2 separate regions of the Homo sapiens genome follow, and region 1 is linked to region 2. The links are contacts of gene promoters, found by promoter capture Hi-C in blood cells and fetal thymus (Javierre and others, 2016). All regions are on one chromosome and are shown on one strand. Each heading gives the region's core, a stretch centred on a gene start or on the middle of the fragment in contact. The rest is flanking DNA. Distances are from core to core; before and after follow the strand shown.

Region 1 (2,700 bases), core at 82-2,581, 470 kb before region 2:
CGGTGGCGGGCGCCTGTAATTCCAGCTACTTGGGAAGCTGAGGCAGGAGAATCGCTTGAACCCGGGAGACAGAGGTTGTGGTGAGCCGAGATCGCACCATTGCACTCCAGCCTGGGCAACAAGAGCGTAACTAATGGGGGCAAAGATAATCATTTCAGCGTTGAGAAGAGATCTTGAATTTAAGATACACCCTACATTTGGGATTCAGAGCACCCTTTGTTCCACCTGTTAATGCTCTAGCTAGCCATCATGCCTTTTCAAAATACCATTCCTTTTGTTGTTCTCTTTCTGAGCTTGATGTCAAATTATTAAAAAGAAGTGAATATAAAGGCATGGAGAAAGTGAGATTAGATTCATGCAAGTGTTGCTTAGTGAATTGGACACAATGTTTGACTACACAGGCACGAGAGGGACCCAGAGACAGGGATCTACTTATGTCCTGCTGCTGCAGGGTGCCTCCGCATCCCACCTTCATCCTCTTTGTCATGAACCTGTGTGGAGTGTTTTTTTTCTTGTCCCTAATCAAACATACAGAGACTGAGAAAACTGACTCCAGTGCTTGAGTGCATGCGTTTGAATTGCAACATAGTCTTTTTTTTTTTTTTTTTTTTTTTTTTTTTTTGAGACAGTGGCTCGCTCTTTCCCCCAGGCTGGAGTGCAGTGGCGCGATCTCGGCTCACTGCAAGCTCTGCCTCCCGGGTTCAAGCTATTTTCCTGCCTCAGCCTCCGGAGTAGCTGGGGACTACAGGCGCCCGCCACCACACCCAGCTAATTTTTCTTTTTTTTTTTTTTTTTGTGGTATTTTTTGTATTTTAGAGACGGGGTTTCGCTGAGTTAGCCAGGATGGTCTCGATCTCCTGACCTCGTGATCCGCCCGCCTCGACCTCCCAAAGTGCTGGAATTACAGGCGTGAGCCACCGCGCCCGGCCGCAACATAGTCATATTTATTTGCTTTCTCAACCAGTGGATATATTTTGTGACTGACTGACTGTATGTAATAATATGTGCATCTGGATATGTGCCTCTGGGAACACATGAAATGACACGTCTCCAAACAAACACTGGCAGACAGCAATCGGTAGAAACCTGGGTACGTCTCCTTTAAGAAAGAACGAAGCCTCGCCTCCGCCCCAACCTGGAGTGTCCATTTCCCAGCGCCCCCTACAGGGGTTTGGCCTTTACTTCCGGAAGGAGGTGGAGGCGACCCTCACTCTCCCGCCGTGCGCCTGTGGGAACATTACCCAGAATGGCCTGCGTTGGGCGACGGCGACCTTCAGCCAATGAGGCCTCCGAAAGGTGGTGTTTCCGTAAGCGCACGCGCGGTCGCGGCGGGACTTCCGTTGTCCTCCTTGTGGCGGTCGTTTTGGCATTTGTCTGGACTGATTACTTGGTAGAAAGCCCCGGAGCGCTGGGTCAGCATCATCCGTGACTGACTGAGAAGGCGCGAGAGGAGTCTTCCCCGCTGCACAGAGGCGTGGCTGAGGCTCGGCGGCGCCCAGGGTACCCAGGCCCGGCCCGGAATAAGGACATCCTCTCTGGCCCCGCTCCGCTCACAGAGTCAGATGGCGGCGGCCGAGCTGACGGCCCCGGCCCAGGTATGTGCCGCGTCCTCTGGGCCTTCCCCGCCCTCCCCACGCTAGTCCTAGCACCCCCGAGGGCGCTTGCTCGCGGCCCTGCTGCCCAGGACAGGACACGGGGGCTCGCCGGAGGGGCTCCCGTTTCCAACACCTGGTGTGCTAGGGAAGGGAGGGCGCGACTGGCAAGGAGCCCCTGATGAGAGGCGCCACTGAGCCCTGGGGCACAGAGGTGACACAGCCATTGCGAGGGCACCCGGCTCCAAGGCCAGGCATGGGGCTACGGGGTGGCTTGAGCCCATCTAATACCGCCATAGATGCTCTTCTCTGAGGCCTGGCTCTTTCTACGTTTCCCTTGGCTGTAAAGGGTTATGAAATCTACGCCAGGAAGGGGAGGGTTTCCCAGTCTCTCACTAGCCCTAACTCCCACCCACAGGTTCTCTGGGTTGTGGAGTGCCATTCCCCCAGCCCTTAGTTCTGAAGACCTTGGGTGAACCCCAAGCCCAGGGTCCTATGTCCATGTTAGCCGGTATATAGAGTTGTTCCAATTTCTGGCAGCCATGTGAACGGGTGTGGAAAGTTTTTCCAGAAAGGTACAAGATGTGCAAATGCTTAGGTGCAGTACGGAGCTGGGTGCATTTATGAAGCCACAAGTCTCCTTGCTTTCTGGTGGGAAGCAAAGAACAGGAGGATAGGCGTCAGGACTGCAGTGGCTGCCTGAGAAGTTGAGTGTGTTTTCAGGAGGTAATAGCAAGTTTGAATCAGAAAAAAGAGGTAATTTACCAAGGTCTTCACAGGCTTCATCTGTGTGCACAGTGGGGCACAAACTGGGGGGTTGAGGGAGGAGGAAGGAAAATCAGGGTAGACTAGTCCAAGTGAGGGTTACTGGCCCAGGATCGTGATTTAGGAGATGTGGTTAGATTCCGGATGTGTGGTTTCAAAAGGGACAACTAAATTACATAATGTAGGTGGTGAGGGAGTGAAACAGAGGGTTCAGAGAAGACTCCAGGGTTTTTGGTATTAGCAGCTGTAGGGAAAGAAGTTTCATCAACTAAGATGAACAAATTGGCAATAGGAGTAATATTCACTAGGGATATCAGGTTTGTTTATGCCATGCTAAGAGTCA
Region 2 (2,700 bases), core at 3-2,502:
ATTATTTATTTATATTCCAAACATTTCCTCTTCTAGTTTGAAAAGTATATACGCTGACTGTATTTATTATATTTAGGCTAAAAATTACAAACGTTTAACACATTAGCGTGCCATACAGGATTGTAATACATTTGCTTTCCACTTGGAAATATAAAAAATTTAAAACTTTGAGCAACTAGCCTCCTTTCAATTTATATGTAGTTGAGGTTACGCACGGGAATTCCATCATTCTAACTCAATAAGTATATCTACTTATGTTTTACACTGTAATATGCTGTTATTTTAATCAAAAGATGCACTTCTTTTCATCTTCATTTCTTCTCTCATTGCAGACTTTTCACCTGAGATCAACTTTCTTTGGCCTTGAGTATTATTTTAAACATTATTTTTTGTGTAAATGTATTTCCATTACATTTATCATTTTTGGTTTCAAATAGTTTTATATCACACTTCCATAAAAGACATTTTGTTGTGTATAGACATCTAGTTTGGTGGTTATTTCTTCTTTACAGAAAGTGTTCATGTTGCCCTTTTCATTGCCATATGACATTTGATGAATTCTGTCTTTTCAGACACTTGTAAAACACTTAAAATATTGAATACATCTCTGTATATGGAGTATGAAATACTATCTTGAACAAGAGTATTACTTGTTGGGTTTGACACAATCACTGCTGTATAAGCAGGATAAATATTTTCTGAGGTAACAGACAGAAGGGTTATTCACTTACTTCAAGGCCACCAAACATCCCCACTCCACGTTCCACATCATGGTGTCTGGAGTCTTTTCTTTCTTGTGCCTGACAGAAAATGCTGAGGCTCGCCAAACTAACTCTGGAGCATCAGGCTACACGCATTTGAAAACAATATTTGTTAACTTCCAGCCATAGAAATCTGAGTGACGTCAGTGTATGGTGTGTCCATTTTATTTTTTGATGAGCATTCTCTGCGTAAGGAAGGCTGAAATCATGTCTCTAAACATTCCTTTGATGTCAAACACGACGTTCACCAGAAATACAGATATGGCTCCTTCAAGAGGAAGCTAAGCTCCGTCTGGGCCTTGGAGACGAGGGACACCATTTCCACGCGCCCCTGGCGGTCTTCTCTGGGCTTTTAACCTGGAGGTGAAGCGAGACGCCGCTTACTAGTGTTGGTGCCGTGGGAACTACATTACCCAGGAAACTTGGCGGCTCTGGGCCAATGAAAACCCAGGAAATAGGCGTTTCCGTTGGTCCTCACCAACGTCAGGGCGGGACTTCCTCTACCATCCTCGGGTGGACATTTTGTTTGCTTTTCCATTAATCCACTGGTTTAGTTTCCAGAACGCAATGTCAGACCTGAGGTGACAGAAAAGGGAAAACGTGAGAGAGTGTCTTCTTCCCTGAAGAGAGGTGGGCCTGAGGCTTGACAGTGGCGCTGCCTGAGTGACCTAGCCGCTGGGCTGGGCCCTGGACAGCTGATCCCAGGTTCCTGCACTTGTCGCCACCCTTCCGTAGTCCACAGGCCTGATGGCGGCGGCTGAGCCGATGGGCCCGGCACAGGTGGGTGCTGCGTCTGCGAGTCTGCGCGCTGACCCCCATCTCTGAATCCCAAAGCTTCGAATGAACGATTCCTCGGGTTACTGCAGCTCAGGCCCCTGTATCTAGAACAGTGGGGGCGCTCGTGTTTGGGACCCATTTTGACAGCACGAGTTGAAGGACGTTCCAGGCAGAGAGACCAGTGTATGCAAAGGCTCAGAGATGGTTCACAGCTGGAGCATTTGGGAAAACTGGGCCTTTAGTGTCTGAAAGGATCAGAGCGCTTTATAAGTGATTGCACCTGGAATATCATCCTGAGCAGCTGGGTCTCTATTCTGAGGGTGATGGGAGCCATGGAAGGTTCTGAACAGAGGAGAGCCAGAATCCGAGGGTTTAAAAAGTATTCCATAGACTGCTCATGGAGGGCAGACTCTTGTTGGCCATGGGGGCGGATAATGAGCACTGTTCCGAGCTAACACAGTTAAGAGGTATCCTTGAAGATGGAAGCACAGAGGGTAGACATTCAGCTCCCAGGCACATTGTAACTGGGTAGGAATATGGGATGGGGTTGAGCCTTTGGGGTTCCTTCAAGATTGCTTGACTCGCATAGTCTCCCTCTTCCCCACAGGTTCCCATGAACTCAGAAGTAATTGTGGACCCTATACAGGTGAGGGGAGAATGTCCATGCTCTCACCGATCCCACCCCCACCCAATACGCTCTCCAGCATTGTGGTGTTATATAGAACACTCTCCTGCTACTCTCCGATCTCTTGGGTCTGAGGACTCTGGAGAAGCCCCAAGCCCAGGGTCCTGACTCCGGGCCAGGGGTTTTATGGAGGGGTTTCCATTTCTGCCAACCATTGGAATAAGGTTGGAAGGTTGTTCCAGGCACAGGAACCAGCCTGTGCAAAATACTTAGAGGTGAGACTGAGAAGGGAGTTTTCAAGAAATTGCAGGTCTCTGTCATGTCTGGTGGGAACCAAGAGCAAGGGGGCGGGAATCATCCTGAAATGGCTTAAAGATGATTATGTAGATTGGGAGTTAAAAGAGAATATTCATTTCACAGTGGTAGTGCATTTAGTGAGCCAGGAAAGTGATGGTGGAGAGCCAGAGTTGTGAGATAACTGTGATCCAAAGAGTGATGTACATATGGAAAGAAGTGTAGACTGATGACGTCTGGGCT

Evidence for each region. Contacts are between HindIII fragments. The CHiCAGO score rates a contact against its expected background, and 5 or more counts as called.
Region 1: the fragment with the promoter of ZNF256 here is called in contact with the fragment with the promoter of ZNF772 in region 2 in 12 of 17 cell types (erythroblasts, fetal thymus, non-activated CD4 T cells and 9 more); the score reaches 10.0 in erythroblasts.

What each region holds. Positions count from the first base shown.
Region 1 is chr19:57,946,337-57,949,036 of GRCh38, reverse strand. It overlaps ZNF256 (zinc finger protein 256), which reads left to right and starts at 1,331. Exons shown (of 3, transcript NM_005773.3): 1 at 1,331-1,595. The coding sequence starts at 1,563. RefSeq lists enhancers at 1,093-1,182, 1,253-1,352, 1,843-1,922. The HindIII fragment of the contact is 12,388 bases long and covers 1-2,700 here.
Region 2 is chr19:57,476,118-57,478,817 of GRCh38, reverse strand. It overlaps ZNF772 (zinc finger protein 772), which reads left to right and starts at 1,252. Exons shown (of 4, transcript NM_001144068.2): 1 at 1,252-1,541; 2 at 2,146-2,184. The coding sequence starts at 1,509. RefSeq lists enhancers at 738-1,937, 1,528-2,051. The HindIII fragment of the contact is 1,804 bases long and covers 1-1,597 here.